Linked DNA regions of Homo sapiens: region 2 is linked to region 1. Evidence: promoter capture Hi-C in human tissues and cell types (Jung and others, 2019). All regions are on one chromosome and are shown on one strand. Each heading gives the region's core, a stretch centred on a gene start or on the middle of the fragment in contact. The rest is flanking DNA. Distances are from core to core; before and after follow the strand shown. Region 1 holds the start of DCC (DCC netrin 1 receptor). Region 2 has its middle 45 kb from the start of DCC.

Region 1 (2,900 bases), core at 281-2,780:
CTCCGTATTCGGAGATTACAGCAGTCCTGATCAGCCAGCCTCCAGGTCCCTCTTTCTCCTGCACTAGCCAGATCCAATCCCCAAACAGTTTTGCCATTTTTAATTAGAAACTGAGCTAGGCAAGTGCCAGGGTCAGGGCGCCGGTTCTCTGGAATATCAATCACTTGGAGTTTGGAGGTGTCCTGGAGCTATATGGAGACTCAGCTTGCGAACTACATTCACCGTTAAAAAATAAAACAATATTAAACACACCTCCCCTCCTCCTTGGCAACTCTGTGCCTCCTTCAGTACCAGGATCCCCTCCTTGGAAGTACCAAAACATATTAGCTGTCCCTTTCCCTATTCTCAATCACCAAGTCCAAAAATCCAAACCAAAAGGAGATGTATTCACACACCAACGACTCAGCCCCACCATCTACATTCTGCGCAGACTTCCTCAAAGCCCCTGGATGTCCTCCTCGCCTGCTCCTGTTGCCCCAATCCTCCCCACTTGGTAGGTTTCTGGGGCTTTAAGGACCCAGCCCAGTTCCTTTCAACGATATCCCCAGCACCTGCCCCAGCCCGCCGGCTCTCCAAACCAACCCAAGTATTTGCAGAAGCAAAAATGCGTGAAGCATCAGATTTTAAAACAGCGAAGGGGCGCCCCTTGTACCACCCCCCCACCATCATCCGCCCCCAGGGAAGAAAAAAACTCTTCTATCTTTTATCATCGGTGCGCAAATGGGGGCAGCGCAAGCGCCAAATCTCTTGCTATCCCCCACCCCAATTCTACTACTCGCCAAATGAAATGAGAAGGGAAGTGGGGTACGGAAGGGGGTGCGACGAGAAGAAAGGAAAGAGCCACTTACCGGTTACTTGAAGATGCGCGCTGAACAAGGAAGCTCCGAAGAGTACAAAAGCCAGCTTGGGTACCCAAACACATCTAAGACTATTCTCCATATTTCAGCCAACACCTTCGGGGCCAGGGGTCGCGGGCAGCGGCAGCACTCACACACATGCACTCACACACGCATGCACACATGCACACACACGCGCCGAGCCCCTTCGGCTTCCTCCTCCTCCTCGTCCTCTTCCTCCACCTCTTTCTCCACCTCCCCTGCGCCTCTGCTGCCTTCGAAGCCTTTTTCCTTGTCCACTGACAGAATCAGCAGCAAAAGCAGGCAGCAAAAAGTTCCATTCGGTCCAAGAGATCCCGAGCCCCGGTAAAACCTTAGAAAACTAACTCAAGGAAACGGAGGGAGCCAGAGGAGGGAAGACAGCTCTCTGAGGGGCTCGCAAGTCATCAATAAACCACATCCAGGAGGGACCAAGAGGAGATGGAAGGCAATCCTGTGGCCGGGCTGTGCATTAAAAGGTTGAGGCTGGTTCCTTGTCGTCGGTTGGGTAAAGTTGAAGAGACAATTCCGCGCGAGAGCTGGAGATGCTGTTGGTTTTTCTTCCGAGAGCCGAGGGGACCCAGGGAGGAGAGGCGGGGGGGACTGCGGGGTGGAGCGCTCTCACTTGTTACTGGGGTGTCCGCCAGCGGTGTGCGAGCTGGGAGTTGGAACCGTACTACACATTGATCCGGAGAAGTGGAGGGCTGGAAGGGAAAATGTGGAGACCGGAGGGAAACGAACTGGATCAGGCAAAGATTCCACGGGAAGGGGGTGGGGGCAGACAGACTATGGCTTAGGGAAAAAAGAGCGGACCGAGGAGGCTTCCAGGAGCTGCATTTGCCTGGTCTGCGTATCAATGCGCAGGGATGCCCTCTGTGGGCAAAGCGTGGGAAGTCACTTTTGTCAATGGAGCCTGCGAACATCCTGAGCGTCTGGAGGTTTTGCAGCGACCGTGTTTGACACTCAGCCTTCAGGAAATTATTGGTATTTGACTGTAAAACCTAGGCGGGCGTTTAAGGCGGAGGAGGTGGCCAGGATGTTTACTTCCTTCTCTGCCCTTGGCATTATTTAAAATACAATTTTTCATTTGGAAAGAATCACCTGATCCAACTCCCTTCTAGGACGGGAGGGAAATCGAGATCCTGAAACACACAGCGGACAGGACAAAGGCCAGAGTTATTTCCTGACATAATAGCTAAGGGGCCTCCTTTTGTAGGACGTCTCATGTCGTCTGTGTTCTCTCTTCTCTCGCAATTGTTTTCTTTAACATATTTAAAAGCACTTATCATGTTCCAGGTGTTCTGTTGGCTCCCAGGAAATAGTTGGGACATCCAGTGAGACTCAGTCTCTATCCTCAAGGGGTTTGTGATCCGTCAGGAGAGAAGCTAAATGGATAATTATAAAGTATCGTGATAAATATGATGGTTCACGTAATGGAGGGGGTGCTCTGGGAAAACAAGAGAGACATTTCTCCAGTCCCTGGCAGATAAAGTGAAGCAACCATACACACGCGTGTGTGTGCACACACACACAAGCACACACACAGCAGGAAACTTAGGAAGGGTGAACAGTAAAGCCCTTTCAGGAAACTGTTTTAAGCTGAGTTCCTTTGCATAACTTGTCTCTGCTGCGGGAACTCAAGCTCCTTTGAGAAGAGAGAGGTTGTATGCCATCCATTTTTGCACTCCTCACAGATGCTAGCATAGAACTTGGAATTCTGCACATGCCAATACGTTTCTGCAGAATAAGTGAACTTACAAACCAATTAATTTGGCCGGGAAGGATAATGAATAGAAATGTCATTCTGGTAAAATTCTGTCGTTTAAGGAGATGTTCAGCTGTGGATTCAGACCATTCCTTACTAGATTCTTCCCCACCTGTTCTTGTCACCCTCCCATGCTCACCAGGCTGTGAGCAGAGAGAATGTGAACATCTATTTAAGAAGAAAGGCGTGAGGGAAAGCATGAAAAATCCAGGATAAAATCATCATCAGGGAAACTCCTATGATGCTGGAACTGGACAACA
Region 2 (2,900 bases), core at 190-2,689, 45 kb after region 1:
ATTTTTGATGAGGCATTAATGCTTGAGGGGGTGCAAAAAATCTTACTCTTTATGTATAAAGCACAGATATACATACAATACATAAACAGATATATAGTATATCTGTAGTATTAAAATTTCACGGGGAGCCATAATTGGCTAGAAAAAGTATGCCTTAAAAGGCTCCCTAGGGAGGCAATAATGGGGGAAAAAGGTTGAAAAACACTGATATATTGTAATTAGATTTAGATTACAAATGTCTGTGCTAAAAGATTCCTTTCAGTCAAAGCAAAATAGGACATGTCACAAGTGTCAAAATTCACATACTTCATAAAGCATACCAAATTCTAAGAGAAAGAATGCTTTTTTCCTAATTTTGTGTAACAGAAGGTTCCTTTGTGTACCTTTATGTTGCAAATCTTTGGTATGTTAGTTTTTCAGGAATTTTGTTTGCTTCATTTAATACAAAGTCAAAATGCCAGTGGTGGGGTCTGGGAAAGATAAAAATAAGGCAAGATAACCCATGTACACAGCTCTGGAATGGTCTGGTTGAGTCCAGAGCTAAAACAAGACATTGGAAGTGAACAAATTGCATGTTTTTCAAATGATTATCTTGTTTCTCTTCACCGCATACTTGAAAAAAATCTCAGTGACAGTCCATTTGAGTTTATATTTTATGGTGAGAGCCAGGTAGTTAGCATTGCTACACAGGTCTTCTTTTCTCAATAAACAGTTTTACTTATGTTTAATTATATATATATAATACATGCTTATAGTAAAACATCCTAACAACATAAAAAAGTATGAAAGAAAATGTCACATACTATCCCACAATTTTGAGATTATCATTAATATTTTTGTAACCACTCTTTCATTTTTATGTTTATATATACATTTTATTTATATATTCAAATATTTTAATTTCTTCCATTATGTAAAGCATTAATCACTCCCTACATATATTTATATATGTGTTTATGTGGACTAATGTATACATACACATATATACATAGATATACACATATACACACATACACACACATACACATGCACACATATATTAATGGAGTTATACATTTTATTTTAAAACATGGGCTCCTTTTTGATTGCACCCTGTTTTTTTTAAATTATCAAGTAGAGAGTAGAATAGAAATATTTTTGTGAAGTTAAAATTCTTCTTTGAATAGTTGCATCCCACCTACTCACAGAAATGGGCCCAAATCATGCCACAGCTCAGATTCTCAGAATTAAATGTGTATAGTAAGGGACTATTTTCTCCCTTGCTTCTTGCTGTGCAGAGTGACACTGAATACCTAATGGTATTGTTTCCACAGGGGGTCTTAAAGGCCTCACATAAAATGGAAAACATGTCTTGCTTGTCACGTTGTATCTAGTACAATGCCTGACACATAATAGATGCTCAGTAAATATTGAGTAATGAGAGAGTTGTATAACGTCCCATAGGGAGGCCATATGATATAGTTTGGCTCTGTGTCCCCACCCAAATCTCATCTTGCACTGCTCTCCCATAATTCCCACGTGTTGTGGGAGGGAGCTGGTGGGAGATAATTTGAATCATGGGGACAGTTTCCCTTATACCGTTCTTGTGGTAGTGAATAAGTATCATGAGATCCGATGGGTTTATCAGGGATTTTCCCTTTTGCATCTCTCTCATTTTCTCTTGCCACTGCCATATAAGAAGTGCCTTTCACCTCCCACCATGATTCTGAGGCCTCCTCAACCATGTGGAACTGTAAGTCCAATTAAACCTCTTTTTCTTCCCAGTCTCAGGTATATATTTATCAGCAGCATGCAAATGGACTAATATACCATAGATCTACATTCATTCTGAGGTGGAATATTGACAACCTTTTCAAAATACTAATGAAATAACCCACATTTGTCATATTCTTGAAATCCAGAAGAGCAACTCTATTCTCATACATAGACATTTTTCTCTTTTGATTCTAGAAATGAGAGTAGTTAGCTAGCTAGGCAAGCAGAGTTATAGTCATAACTACATGACTATAGCCCACTGATCCTGCAGAAACACGAACTCATCGAAAACTCTATGCCAGGGCATGGACAAAATGAATCTTATCCATGCATGTACTGACATGAAGATGTCCTTGAATGGGGACATTTGACCAGGCTCACCTGTAGGAGTTGAATTCTACTTTGATTCTTATTAATATGGGAGGGCCATTATACACAATAATATAAAAATATTTAAAGACAGAACATTTAAACAAATCTTTATCTCTAATTATCATTCCAGTTCTGGCTTTAGTAGACATCTTTGGAATTATATATGGTGATTGAATCTCACTTTTAATTAGGATATTTACTCATGTAGAGAATGTATCATGTATGAGTTTTATCTTGTCTATTTTTATAGTTCCAATTTATCTTTTTAAATTTACACTTTTGTTTTGTAATAAAACTGAAAAAATAAATCTTAAAGATATAATTAAGAGTGTTCTAAATACCTAAAGGAATTCAGTTGCACATTTCTGAGGTTTAACAAGAAAATTAATGTCTCATCTAATGTAATAATACTCTGAATGGGATTTTTATCAAATCATTTTTAAAGAATTATAAAGAGTTGAGTAAGTATTATACAAACTGGAAAGGTAGTATTAGGTCAACTTGAATCCAATAACAGCAAATCTTATGTAATTCTGCCATACAATACATCTCACTTTTCATTTTAAGTATGTTCTTCTACTTCTGCGGGACTCTGGCTCTTCTCCTCTAACTCCTTGGTAAAAAGTAATGCTTTGATTTAGGCAATGATTAGACTGATAGGAGATTCTATTTTGAGGTAGCTGAATTCTGGGAAATTAGTGATTCAGTATTTTCCTTGTTGCTATTATTCCAAGTTGCCCTCTGAGAAAGTTAAAGAATAGTGTTAAGTTACC

Evidence for each region. Contacts are between HindIII fragments. The study calls those that stand out against the background at their distance.
Region 2: a contact is called between a fragment that was not itself captured here and the fragment with the promoter of DCC in region 1, in 1 of the 25 tissues and cell types used here (stomach).

Annotation. Positions count from the first base shown.
Region 1 is chr18:52,338,827-52,341,726 of GRCh38, reverse strand. DCC (DCC netrin 1 receptor) reads right to left here and starts at 1,530. Exons shown (of 29, transcript NM_005215.4): 1 at 849-1,530. The coding sequence starts at 939. The HindIII fragment of the contact is 11,241 bases long and covers 1-2,900 here.
Region 2 is chr18:52,293,963-52,296,862 of GRCh38, reverse strand. No RefSeq gene overlaps it. Among named protein-coding and RNA genes, the nearest start is that of DCC, 45 kb to the left of the region's middle. The HindIII fragment of the contact is 4,227 bases long and covers 1-2,900 here.